5 separate regions of the Homo sapiens genome follow, and all the other regions are linked to region 5. Evidence: promoter capture Hi-C in human tissues and cell types (Jung and others, 2019). All regions are on one chromosome and are shown on one strand. The core of a region is centred on a gene start or on the middle of the fragment in contact, and the rest is flanking DNA. Distances in the headings are between cores, read along the strand shown.

Evidence for each region. Contacts are between HindIII fragments. The study calls those that stand out against the background at their distance.
Region 1: a fragment that was not itself captured here is called in contact with the fragment with the promoter of CLHC1 in region 5 in 1 of the 25 tissues and cell types used here (hippocampus).
Region 2: a fragment that was not itself captured here is called in contact with the fragment with the promoter of CLHC1 in region 5 in 1 of the 25 tissues and cell types used here (hippocampus).
Region 3: a fragment that was not itself captured here is called in contact with the fragment with the promoter of CLHC1 in region 5 in 1 of the 25 tissues and cell types used here (pancreas).
Region 4: a contact is called between a fragment that was not itself captured here and the fragment with the promoter of CLHC1 in region 5, in 1 of the 25 tissues and cell types used here (H1 embryonic stem cells).

What each region holds. Positions count from the first base shown.
Region 1 is chr2:54,945,864-54,948,563 of GRCh38, reverse strand. All of the region lies in intron 28 of EML6 (EMAP like 6), which reads right to left. Among named protein-coding and RNA genes, the nearest start is that of RTN4, 100 kb to the left of the region's middle. The HindIII fragment of the contact is 3,016 bases long and covers 1-2,700 here.
Region 2 is chr2:55,611,480-55,614,179 of GRCh38, reverse strand. The region is part of intron 2 of PPP4R3B (protein phosphatase 4 regulatory subunit 3B); the gene reads left to right. Among named protein-coding and RNA genes, the nearest start is that of PPP4R3B, 4.8 kb to the left of the region's middle. The HindIII fragment of the contact is 4,245 bases long and covers 1-2,700 here.
Region 3 is chr2:55,643,001-55,645,500 of GRCh38, reverse strand. It overlaps PNPT1 (polyribonucleotide nucleotidyltransferase 1), which reads left to right. Exons shown (of 28, transcript NM_033109.5): 22 at 69-152; 23 at 781-864; 24 at 2,076-2,182; 25 at 2,288-2,343. Among named protein-coding and RNA genes, the nearest start is that of PPP4R3B-DT, 26 kb to the right of the region's middle. The HindIII fragment of the contact is 3,308 bases long and covers 1-2,500 here.
Region 4 is chr2:54,793,714-54,796,413 of GRCh38, reverse strand. All of the region lies in intron 2 of EML6 (EMAP like 6), which reads right to left. Among named protein-coding and RNA genes, the nearest start is that of EML6-AS1, 44 kb to the right of the region's middle. The HindIII fragment of the contact is 3,012 bases long and covers 1-2,700 here.
Region 5 is chr2:55,230,976-55,233,675 of GRCh38, reverse strand. It overlaps CLHC1 (clathrin heavy chain linker domain containing 1), which reads left to right and starts at 1,383. Exons shown (of 13, transcript NM_152385.4): 1 at 1,383-1,453. It overlaps RPS27A (ribosomal protein S27a), which reads right to left and starts at 988. Exons shown (of 6, transcript NM_002954.6): 1 at 968-988; 2 at 804-868; 3 at 259-313. The coding sequence starts at 851. RefSeq lists enhancers at 709-888, 909-1,338. The HindIII fragment of the contact is 6,944 bases long and covers 1-2,700 here.

The DNA.
Region 1 (2,700 bases), core at 74-2,573, 290 kb after region 5:
TGGTTCAAAACCAAGGAGAAGCCTGACCATGAGGGGCGGGAGGCCACATTTCCTGGACTTGCTGACCTTTTTCAGACAGGGATGTGCTCATGTTGTTCAGAATTAAGTTGTCGATGGCCATGGTGTGGCGTGAAGTGGCACTTACAAGCCAGGCTGCGGAAAGGGCCCTAAGGACCACAGGCCAAGTGCCTAGGTCGGCCTCACTTCTCAGACAGGCAGGCAGGAAGCAGAGGGACAGGAGACAGACAGCACTCCCGCCTCCCACTCCGCCCTCGCCTCAGGACTCGGGTCTGCATTCAGCTGCTACCACACCAAAGGTTGCTTTTCCCGCCTCCGTTTTGGGGTCTGGGGCCTCCAAATTTAATGAAGAGATTTTATAATGTGTAAGCCCTAATGGAATCCTAGAGGAGTACGCCAGTTCTTGGTGACGTGGGGTTTCCTTAAATCAGATTTCTCTATGGATGGGTCGAGAAAGAACTGTACCAGCTCCCACCGCATGTTCCAAAGTAATTAGTTATTGCTCCCGGGATATGCAAAGAGAAGGATTACCTTGATCCCCTTGAAAGCAGCAAACAAAGCCAAGTGAGAAACTTAGTACAGTTTAGAGCCGCATTAGCAACCACCTCATTCATGCACAAGCATTTTCCAAGTGAACAGACATTCCTGTGTGGCACACACCATGCTTCCCCAGCATGCCAGCAAAGAACTAAAACAGAAATGAAAGAGTGCACCAGTCTACAAATTCAGAAAGCTCATACCCTGGCGTCTCTGGGCAAACTCTGCACTAAAGCGCCTACAGAATAGGGAGAGAAAAGGAAGCTTTGTCAATGCTTCCCGCACACTCTCCGTGACTTTACGAATGCGCCCGGGGACTCTGCTTAGAGTGTGCTGGGGAGAAACTTGCTGTCAGAAAAACAATGACATCTTCCTGGATGTCGTGGGGAGTTATGTACAATGGATACTTTGTTTCCAAATCAAGTTCAACTCATAATTTAGCCTAATAATTCCCAGTGTTTCTTGGTAGGTCAGCCTGCCTGCTCGAATGGCTTGCGGGGGTTCTTTTTGTGTGCAGGGGAAGACAGGGTACCTTTATTTTCTCAGAAACTCTTCAATCAAAACACGTTATGTAATCATAAGTGATAATTGGACCAAACGGTATTATAATCACCACTGAAGAATGGGTAGACAGCACATCTCTGCAAAACGACACCCCCGGCTGACATCATCGCCACCAAATTGAGCAAAATCGGGAGACTGGGGGCATGCCAGTTCTCACAATTAGACACTTCCTTCACATTAATTATCGCTTCCCAGGACATCTGCTCTTTCTTCTGTTTTAGTGGGACTTTCAAATGAAATCCGTGGGTTTCTTCTTTCACCTAAGAACGTTTAAGTGTATGACAAAAGCAAGCCAGGGGCTATGAGGAGAGCAAGAGGACACTGGAACTATGGCATGGCTCATAAGGCATTATTTGAGGATAAACACAGGGCTCGATTTCAGGGGACACACAGGTTGTATAATATGTAATATATTATACAGTGAATATAGAGTATGCGTACAAGCACAAACACCGTGTATTTATATATACAGGAGATTGTATATATATACACAGACGCAATCCGATGCTTTTTTTTTTCACCTTGATTTTCAGAAAAAAACCGAAAGGTAAAGCAATCTCAATGTTTCTTTCTCATTTCGCAAGCATATGTTTACAGCTGTATTGCTTCAAAACTGAAGATGAGAGGAGCAAGGGGAAGAAACCTGCATTGTGGCAAATTCAGCGGATTTTAAGTATTGACCCTTCGCGGTTGTGGATTCTGCGTGAACACTTAGTACTGGATGTTCACCAAACACCTGTGTTTGTCTCCAGAGCGGTGTGAATACTTACTTGACAATTCCCTGCCTCCAAAGGAAAGCAAGTTAAAACACAATACAAGTATTAAAAGCTTCTTTCCAGGCATCTATAAACAGTGTTCATAACATCAGATGTGGGAGGGACTGCCAGAGACTTCACACGTAGCCAAACACTGGAGGTTTAACAGTTTTCCGTGGATCTAAATCCTTCTAGATTCAGATTCCATCAGAAATGGGACTCTGAAAAGCTTTGCTGAGGTGGGAAGGAGTGGAGGCATGAGGACATTCACTCACTTTCAGTCCAATCAGCTCATTAGAGTTGGTCATTCCCAGCTGGCACAGGACAGGAGTGCGAGGAAGGCTGTGGGCACAACCCGGCATTGGCAGGGAGACCCAGTGGGGCCAAGATCTGGGAAGGTGAGGGGGTGAGAGACTGGAGGTGGGAGGAGCAGAGACACAAAGGGGCCTGGTGGGGCAAGTAGGCTTTGAGGAGAATGGGCAGGGGGGCAGGGTCAGGGAACAAAGGAGAAAGAGCTTCCATTGGCAAGAAATTTAAGGAGGGAGCCTGGCAAGACAGCAAACAAACTGGATAATCAGGAGAGAGGGTGGCACACAGGCCGAAGCTCTGGAGAGCAGGAGAAGCCTGCCAAGAAGACAGAGTGAAGGCAGGAAGCCCAGGGAGAGGCTGTGAACTCCAGCCTGGGGCTTGGTGTTGAGTAACAAGTCGGCCCTGCTCTTCAGTGCCTGTGGGGAGAGTCACAACCCTGTACCCCCTGTGGAAACAGTTGGCACATTCTGTGGGCAGGGCAGGATCATGGGAAGGCCAATTCCTGCTGTCATCCCAC
Region 2 (2,700 bases), core at 28-2,527, 380 kb before region 5:
GTGCAGCTTATTATTACAAAGTCTTACTGTTAGAACAATTATGTATATAACACATTCTTAATCAGTTATTTGAAATACTTTAAAATTTTCAATATTCAATTCATAGCTTTTTTCTCTGTTTAGAAAATATTGTGTGTCTTTTTTGATGGAGAAGCAAATTAAACATTTGTCCTGAATTGAAAACCTGAAGATGTTTCCTATACCTTAGACATTGTAAGGTAGACATTTAAGTAAATTTAATTTCTCAGTCAGCCAGGCAGCTCTTAATCTCTGTCTTTATACCGAGTTTTTACCAGATGATCACTTTTAGTTTGTTTTTGTTTGCTTGCTTCTTTGTGGGGAAAGAAATACTAATTTTTTTTTTTTTTTTACCATATTTCCCTTATCTGCATGAATATAATTATCAGGAACTTTGTTCTTAAATGTAACTAAGTCATAAACAGTTCCCTACAAATTTAGGTTTAATAATGGATTCTTCTCAGATTGTATATAAGATCTTTTAGCTGTTGTTACTTTGGAAACATCACATTATGGAGTAGGTTTGTATTTAAAATAGTCACCCAACATAAGTTAAAAATACATAGTGATTCTGTGAATACTTTAGAATCATTAGGATATGTAGGTAATTTCATGTATAATGTTGCTCTACTAGAAAATTAGTTCTAGATAATTAGCATTTTTGTATACACTTAGTATAAAGTATTGGAAAAAATGCATTATTTAAAAAAATTACACCATTTGGAAATGTTTTCTGTAATCACATTTAAATAATATACTATTTGGGGTTTTGTAATAGTTTATTTTTTCGTTGGGCTTTTTTTTTTTGGCAACATAACATTCAGGTGTATAAGAGAACTCTGGTAATGAGAAGAATATGGAAACACTGAAGAAGAGTGAAAAACTTGTGTGAATGATGTTACCTGTTTATTTTTGTTTAAATTGAGTACACTTTTCTAATTGAAATCATAGGGCCATTTAGGGGTTATGTTAAACTTAGTTTCTTTGTAATAGACATGGTTTTTCATATTTTCACCCAAATCTTCAATTTGCACTTTTGAAAATAATTTTTTTGAGAGGGTCTTCTTCTGTCCCTTAGGCTGGAGTACAGTGGTTTGATCACAGCTCACTGCAGCCTCAACCTCCTGGGCTCAAGCGATCCTCCAATTTCAGCCTTCTGAGTAGATGGGATTATGGATGTGAGCCACCATGCTTGACTAATTTTTTTTTTTTTTTTGAGATGGAGTCTCGCTCTGTCGTCCATGCTGCAGTGTGGTGGTGCGATTTCTGCTCACTGCAAGCTTCGCCTCCCGGGTTCACACCATTCTCCTGCCTCAGCCTCCCAAGTAGTTGGGACTACAGGCGCCCGCCACCACGCCCAGTTAATTTTTTTGTATTTTTTAGTAGAGATGGGGTTTCACCGTGTTAGCCAGAATGGTCTCGATCTCCTGACCTCGTGATCCGCCCGCCTCGGCCCCCCAAAGTGCTGGGATTACAGGTGTGAGCCACCAAGCCCGGCCAACCTTACTAATTTTTTAAAAAATTTGTAAAGATGGGGTCTCGTTATGTTGTCCAGGCTAAATTTGCACCTTTAAAAAATTTATTACAAAACTTTGTTGTTGTTGTGTTTGTAGAGACGGTCTCACTGTGTGGCCCAGGCTGATTTGAATTCCTGGCCTCAAGTGATCCTTTTGCTTCAGCACCTCCATGGTGCTGGGATTACAGGTGTGAGCAGTGGCTGTATTCAGCTTAATTTGTAGTTATTTGAAGTTACACAAATTGAGATTTCCAAATACAGTAACATTTTTCTATGTTTGTTAGAATTATCCTTTGTAAAAGGCATCATTTAGGTTATTCAATAAATTAGTCTAGAAAGTTATTAATTTCCAAATATCACATGAAGTCTGTTGTTCAGTAGTGGAGTTAAAATTTAAAAAATTGTTTTCAGAGATGGGATCTTGCTATGATGCCCAGGCTGAGCTTGAACTCCTAGGCTCAAGTGATCCTCCCATCTCAGCTTCTCCAGTAGCTGGGACTGCAGTAATGGGTTAAATTTTTTGTTTCCATTAGCGGGTTTTTTATTAAAAACTTAATGAGTAAGTGAATGAGATGTTTATAGGCCATTTTGCTGTATTAAAATATGTTGACTATGGCAGGCATGGTGGCTCACACCTGCAATCTCAGCACTTTGGAAGGCCAAGGCAGGAGGATCCCTTGAGCTGAGGATTTCGGGAACAGCCTGCACAACATAGCAAGATCCCTGTCTCTACCAAAAAAAATTCAAAAATTATCCAGGTGTGGTGGTGCGCAGCTATAGTGCCAGCTACTTCTGGAGGTGAGACGGGAGGATCATTTGAGCTTCGGAGGTCGAGACTGTAGTAAGCCATGATTGTACCACTGCACTCCAGGTGGAGAGACAAAGCGATTTTTCTGTCTCAAAAAAAAAAATTGAGTAAATTCAGAGGGGAATGTTTAACATTCTTCTTTTAACATTATAGTTTTAAAATGAGCCAACTACTAAATTGTGTGCTCAAGATACATCTTTTCTTTCATAAATGAAGTACCAAATTGTGAGCCTAAAAGGAGTTAGAATGAGTCAAGCTGAATGTCATATGACTGGATATTGAAAAGTCATTATTGATTCACATCACTTTCTTCCTTACTGTGCATAGTACTGAAGTCGTTAATGGAAGAAGATGTACT
Region 3 (2,500 bases), core at 1-2,500, 410 kb before region 5:
CTAAGAGTACAGTATTTCAGATCATATTTGTTTTATGTAGTTATAATTTTTGTGTTTTTCTCTTCTAGTGGCAAAAAAGGAGATATTACAGATCATGAACAAAACTATTTCAAAACCTCGAGCATCTAGAAAAGAAAATGGACCTGTTGTAGGTAATACATTAAAATTTTAGTGATCGGCTGGGCGCGGTGGCTCACGCCTGTAATCCCAGCACTTTGGGAGGCCGAGGCGAGCGGATCACAAGGTCAGGAGATCGAGACCATCCTGGCTAACACGGTGAAACCCTGTCTCTACTAAAAAATACAAAAAATTAGCCGGGCGTGGTGGCGGGCGCCTGTAGTCCCAGCTACTCGGGAGGCTGAGGCAGGAGAATGGCATGAACCCGGGAGGCGGAGCTTGCAGTGAGCCGAGATCGCGCCACTGCACTCCAGCCTGGGCGACAAAGTGAGACTCCGTCTCAAAAAAAAAAAAAAAAAAATTTTAGTGATCATGGTAAGATAAACATTAATATATGAATGAATATTACTGCTTTTAAATTGTTTTTACCCAGTGCACAAAACGAAAATATTTTAAATACTTTTGTAGTTAAAATGCTTTAAATTTTAGGGAATATTCTTTAACAGTTTTCAGTAATTTTAATCATCTACTTTTCTGTTTTATAGTAAAATATTTTTACATGTGTCTAGGTCAAAAAAAAAAAAAATCTCAAGTGACCATGGCATGTTTTAGGTTCATGTATGTAGTTGAATTGTTTATATATTTGTCTGTATTACGTTCCAGAAACTGTTCAGGTTCCATTATCAAAACGAGCAAAATTTGTTGGACCTGGTGGCTATAACTTAAAAAAACTTCAGGCTGAAACAGGTAAGAGTTGTATGAAGTTTGGGGTTTTTTAATTAAATGCTAGACCATAAAAGTTTGCTATTTCATCTCTAGTATGTTGCTTTAAATATATATTTATTTGAGAAATGAGAGAAAGACCAGGAGAAAAGGATATGACGTGTCTTGACTGTGAGTTTTCTGTGTGCCTATTAATAAATTAGCAAATGGTCATTCTTAACTAAATTCAAGAAGGATTACAAAGAATTCATCAGGACTTTTTTGCAACATTTTATAGTTGAACATCTAGAATAATTTTTAGTTTTTAACTTTAGAGGAATTATTACTTAGTTATTTCTTTTTATTCTGCTACTTTCACTTAGTTTTATTTTAACTCTTTTATTTAAAGAGTATATAAAAAAAAGCTTTAATTTATTTTTCCTGAAGCAATGTTTGAATTACCTCGTACTTCAAGGTTTGAGGTTACTGCAAGAGAGTGAGAAGCACTGTCACCTTAGCCATTTGCTAACACTGAGAAACTGATGTGATTTTGTCCCTTATTCATTTATTCACCCCTCGTAAGAGTAAGCGGGAGAAAGAAAAAAAGTAAGGAAAGGGTTCTATTATAGTTTCTACTCGTAATTAAGAGAGCAGAACCAGACTCTCCAAAATTTGTATAGATATATTTGATTTCACTAGATGGTGAATTTCAAGAAATCAAGCATATTGGCTCACCATTGTATCCCCAGGGCCTACCTAGTATAATGCCAGGTACCTAGCAAGTATGCAGAGTGTATTTGTTGATGAATGAATTCCTTCATTCCTAAAGTAATGATTAAATACAGCATAACTCCACCCAGCTACTAATAGGTCCCTCCTATTCTCACATCTATTTTTAAGACGAGTTTCCACTGGAATGAGCAAGTTAACTTTTTTTTTTTTTGAGATGGGGCCTTGCTCTGTCACCCAGACTGGAGTGCAGTACACAATCACAGCTAACTCCAGCCTTGACCCCTGGGATCAAGTGATCCTCCCGACTGTGAGTCCCAAGTAGGTGGGCACATGCTACCAGGTCCAGCTAATTTTTGAATTTATTTTTTGTAGTAACAGGCTCTCCCTATGTTGCCCAGGCTGGCCTTGAACTCCTGAGCTCAAGTGATCCTCCCACCTCAGCCCCCCAGAGTGCTGGGATTACAGATGTGACCCACTATGCCCAGCCAAGTTAACTTTAATATGTTACATTTTGTTTTTAAAAGGTGTAACTATTAGTCAGGTGGATGAAGAAACGTTTTCTGTATTTGCACCAACACCCAGTGCTATGCATGAGGCAAGAGACTTCATTACTGAAATCTGCAAGGATGATGTAAGTATAGATCATATTAATTACGTATCATATAGCTATATTTGTTTTTTCTACTTTTTGTTGATGTTTTCTTTATGAATCTTATGGCTTATTTTGCACTTACAGCAGGAGCAGCAATTAGAATTTGGAGCAGTATATACCGCCACAATAACTGAAATCAGGTAATATCAAGTAATATACTATGCTGAGCATTTTCCTTTCTTTAGAGACAGGGTCTCACCCTGCCACCCACAGTGGGATACAGTGGTGCCATTGTACCTCACAGCTGCCTTGAACTCCTGGGATCAGGCAGTTCTCCCACCTCAGCCTCCTATTTAG
Region 4 (2,700 bases), core at 101-2,600, 440 kb after region 5:
TGAAGTGGGAATATTTCATTTTCCCTTTAAGAAATGGATTCTCTGAAGAAATAGGTCATTTAGCTTCTTTAGGCTCCTATTGTGTTATTTTGAGAGTAATGAGTAAAGACTGAATAAGGAAATTCAGGAGGAAATATTTCCTCAGTCATTTTTAGAAGCCATTAATCAGACTTATTCCCAAGGAGATTTCTTTTGGTTAAAATTAGATGTAGATATGGAGAGAGAGATGTCATAGATAGATATGATATCTTGGGATTTTACTTATATACTATTAGACGGATTTTGTATCATACTTGCCTTTATTTCCCTTCAGAATCTTTTGAAATCCTTGTTATAATTTTTCTCTGAGAAAGTTTTAAAGACTTATTTGTGTAATTTTATCTCGTATTCAGTGTTTTGAGATTTAGATGATGAAAGCATCTCATCTAGATTTTGGTGCTGGATTTTTAATGCCAACAGTTGTAGCCCACCAGTGAGTATGTCCATGAAAGAGAAATCATGCAAATTCCACAGAAGCAGCTTTTTAAGCTGAATGAGTACCACTGTTCTTAAATTCTTAAGATGTAGCTGCCTAATACCCTAATCTATGCCTCTGCATTCATCAGCGTTTTCACCTGGGAATCAGGCTCACTCAAGTATTAAGTATTGAATTCGGGGGAAATCACATATTATGCTAGGGGCTAGATACTAAAGTTTGCTTATAGTCAGTTCCTTAGAGCACCATCGGGGCAGCGCAGTGCATGTGGCATATGTACATGACTGTACAGTACTGAGGCCCACTGAGGACGCCAGACCCAGACATTCCCTGGGGGCATATGCTCCTTGCTGGCAGTGGCAGGATGCTACACCATGCTTTTTAAATTGGTCCCTATCCTCCTCCTTCCCCTCTTCCCTTTTCCTCCCCCACACGTGTATTTGATGAGACTCACTGATATTGGCTCTGTGTTCCCAAGTCTCATCTCCAATTGTAATCCCCATACGCCAGAGGAGGGGCCTGGTGGGGGGTAACTGGATAATGGGGGCAGATTTCCCTTGTGTTCTCGTGATAGTGATTTCTCACAAGATCTGATGGTTTTCAAGTGTGGCACCTCCCCACCTCATTCACACATGCTCTCTCTCCTGCCACATGTGAGACATGCCCTGCTTCCCCTTTACCTTCTGCCATGATTCTAAGTTTTCTGAGGCCTCCCCACCCATGCTGAAGTGTGAGTCAATTAAACCTATTTTCTTTAAAAATTACCCAGTCTCAGGTAGTTCTTTATAGTAGTGTGAAAACAAACTCACTATACTCATTTTATATCCTCCAGAAGCTTAAGACCAAGTTAAAGCAAAACCAATCTAGAAAAACAAACAAACAAAAAAACACGAATAAATAGTACTATGTAAGAATGGCGTGGTAAAATTCTGAGGTAAAGGAGTTTCAAGAAGGCTGGGTCGGTGGGACCTAGTGTGGTCAGTGAATTAACAAATGATTCCTTCTTAAGGTAATCAATATCCTGAAAGTCTTCAGTTGCCATCATACAGATGAGGGCTGGTCTTGGTACCAGAACCTACTGAAGCTACAAATTCATCTCCAATGACCCTCCTTTAGGCATTTACTAAACCAAACAACTGTATTACACTTGTCACGTAAGCGTAATGTCGTACAATTTTTGTAAGCTGAACACTTGTTTAAGAATGCTTAGGACCTTTTTACTATTAAAGTTAATCCCTGAGTGCACTAACCATTTACAGGTGGCCCAGCCTTTACTCCACTGAAAGGAAAAAGGGGCATTATGCAAGGGCCATTGGTAAGATAAGTTTTCCTAGAAAAAACATTAGGCAGACAGGATCCTTTAGGGGGCATCAGGACGAGCCAGTTTACAGAAGCCAGAGGGGTGCTGAAAGTATCTGAATTAAGGGAACTGAGTTGACCCTTCCCCGTCCTGTCCCTACTCCCTCAGATGTTTCTGCCAGGGAAGAGGACTGAGAACTAACGTTTTAGTAATCAAATCACATGGTCAGCAAGGGGTCAAATTAAGAATTTTGCTAAGAAAAATTTGTATAATATCAATAATAAGAACAGAGAAAAGGGCGATAGAAATCCATGAATTGGTGTTTTAATGCCTCTGAGTGACCTACATTAACAGGGACTTGAGTAAAGATGAATAGGCAGCTGAGTGTAATGGCACAGTCCAGAAGCCAACAGGCCTCTGCTGAAATCCCAGCTCCCCTGCTGCATGACCAAGCAGCAGGGCCAGCTGCCTAATCTATCTTAGCCTTTATATTTGTCCGAAATGGGGATAATAACACAACTTACTTCACTGGGATAAGATTTATTTGAGATAATATATGGAATATACTTAGTACACTGCCAGCAAAGTGGAAAATGCTTATTAAGGGTCAGTTTTCATGTTTATTAGATGAGGTGAGGCAAGGGAATTGACCGAAGAGCTATTTCAGGGAAACCAGTAACAACTGTTCCATCAACTGTCAAGTAGACACTTTCTCTTTGAGAAGGAGAACTGTCTCCTAGTAGGCTATTGAGGGGCTAGGGGAAGGAAGAGAAAAGACCTAGGCTGGAGTTCCAGGGAGTTCCAGCCATCACAGCTGCATTCCAGGCACCAGGAGGTGGGAGTTGGGGAAGTTCTGCCACTGCTGCCCCTACTCACCAAACCAGCCCCGCTTCCTGGAAGTCCACAACACTTATGTAGTCACCAG
Region 5 (2,700 bases), core at 134-2,633:
CCTGGGCGACAGAGGAGACTCCATCTCACACAAAATAAATAAATAAGTGTCCAAATTCACGCAAGTGAAATACACCTCAAGGATTCCAATCTAGGTACTGTGCTCCCCGATCACCAATGTCTATTGTGTTATTCCACAAGTATTTCGCTTTGTCAATCTGACCCCTTCCCCCATCACCAAGAGCAGGTATGTCTAGCACCTACAGGTAGGCCGAAGTCTCCGCAGGTTAAGTTTTCTTAACTACAAAATACTACTTGCCTTCCTTATCCTGGATCTTGGCCTTTACATTTTCTATCGTATCCGAGGGTTCAACCTATGAGTGTTAAAGTGAAAGCATGTTGGTTACACATTAAGGAACTACAGCAGAACTCATTTAGTTTGACAATTACCACTGAACCGAACCAGCGACAGGGCTGAGACCTACTCGAGAGACCTATTACCCACCCAGTGGGCAACCTCCCAAGTCGGCTACCGGAAAGCACCTTCATCTCCCCAGCCCAGAGCGGGCGGCGGCCGCAGGGCCACACGTGCTCGCACCCGGCGGGCAGAGCGTCTCCTTCCCCACCGCAGCTCCTCCGTTTTAACTAACTAGCTGGAACCCCTCGAGAGGAGACAGGTCCAGCCTTTGGCCACCGAAAATCACCTCTAGGTCGTTGCTCAGCAAAAGGTACTCATTTCAAAGCTTAAGTTTTAGAACCCAAATTCGGAATCATGGTCTAAGACATGGAAAGCAGCGCCGGTCCTAAAATCCACCTCAGGACCTTATTCGGACCTTGGCTTCCTCATGACCACCCGGCCCGTACCTCGAGGGTGATGGTCTTCCCCGTAAGGGTTTTCACGAAAATCTGCATTTTGGTGGCGGCTCCACCTGAGGTTGAGGAAAAGGAAGAGACAGGTTAGGTCAGGGATCACAAGAGAAGGCACCATAGGGTGCTAACCCGAGAGCAGCCGAAGTGCAGACACCCACCGCAGATGGCGGATCGAAAAGGAAGAACGCCGCGCAGGCCCACGGGGTTTCCCGGAGCTCCCGCCGAAGGACCCACCCCTTAGGCGACCACACCAAATGCCTGACTGCCGTCCCAGCGACAATCCAACCCGGTGCCAGACTAGGACGTGAACTTCGTTTCTCCTCTCCCTAGCCTGGGCTTATTTCTCACTTTAGCCTTCGGAATGCTTTCGAAACTGTAGGTTTAAGCAACGTAAAAGATGTTTTAAAAAGGCTTTTCCCGTACAATCAACGTGGCTAAGAGAATTTTTAAAAGGAGGTCGAGGGGGGCCTCTTGGGGAAGAGGTAGGAAATGGAAGTGCATTCTGGGAACTGTAGTTCTCCACTGCTTTCTTCTACCTTGGACTACTTGTCCCAAGATGCAGTTCCACCTCCCAGATTCCCTAGTTACTATCTCTAAGCACTGAAGTCGGTGTTTGGAGAAAAGGACTCAGGTGAGGACTGGAGGTAGGATGAAGCGGAATAATGGTTTCCGGAGCGTGGGAACGGGCCGGAAGTGACTAGAGCAAATGTTAAGCGGGGGGCAAAGGGTGCGGGGCACGAAAGGTGTCCTTCACTCACTTCCAGAAGCGGTGATGGGCAGAGAATCAGCAATCTACCAGACGCTCCTTGGGCCTTCAAGGGAAGGGAATTTGCGTGGCCTGCTCCAGGCAAACTGAAAAATAGGTGAAATCTGCGGAAGCGGGGGTTCAGCCCTTTCTCTCCTGTAGCGCCTCCCTGCTTTCAACCGCCGAGTCTCTCCCAGCCTAGGGAAGAGTCTGGGTCTTGTGTGTCACTCCTTAGTGTGACACGCTTTAATATGTTGAAAAATCTCAGGAGTTTTCAAATTTTAAAGTGAAGCCGTACGGAAAAGAAACCTGCAGAATGGTTATTTAGTTGTAGAATTTCCAAATTTGGGCATTGGGAGTCTTGGATCTGAGAGGAAGTTTTTGGAGTATGTATGGGGTGCTTCTTCCGGCAAGGAGGCCAATTAGAAGCAAGTTCTCCCTGTCCTTTCTCCACTCCACAAACCAGAGTCCTTTCTAATGTCTTCTGTATTTATTTCTTCATCCTCTGCCCTCTGCGACCCCATCCCCAAATTCAGACCTTAATTTTCTCTTGTAGGGGTTCCGAATCTAACTCCTTATCTCTCTCCAGTCTTTCCTCCTTTCTAACCCACCTTCACTATTGCCTCCAAAATATTCATTCTGAAAGGTAAATGTGTGTTATTATTTTATACCTCACCTTCAGGATACAATTCAAATTTCTTAGAATGACATTCAGCCTCTGCCTTCCTTACAACCTAATCTGCTAAACCCATTACTCTACATTTTAGTAAATGAAGCTAATTTAATTTCCTGACCTATGCCCTCCCGTGTTTTGGCATTTCTGAAGAATCCAGTCGTTTATTCTTCCTGGAACTTTTTTTTTTTTTTTTCGTGAGACGGAATTTCGCTCTGTTGCCCAGGCTGGAGTGCAGTGGCGCGGTCTCGGCTCACTGTAAACTCCGCCTCCCAGGTTCAAGCAATTCTTCTGCCTCAGCCTCCCGAGTAGCTGGGATTACAGGCGCCCACCACCACACCCGGCTAATTTTTGTATTTTTAGTAGAGATGGGGTTTCACCATGTTGGCCAGGCTGTTCTCTAGCTCCTGACCTCAAATGATCCATCCTCCTTGGCCTCCCAAAGTGGTGAGATTACAGGCGTGAGCCACCAC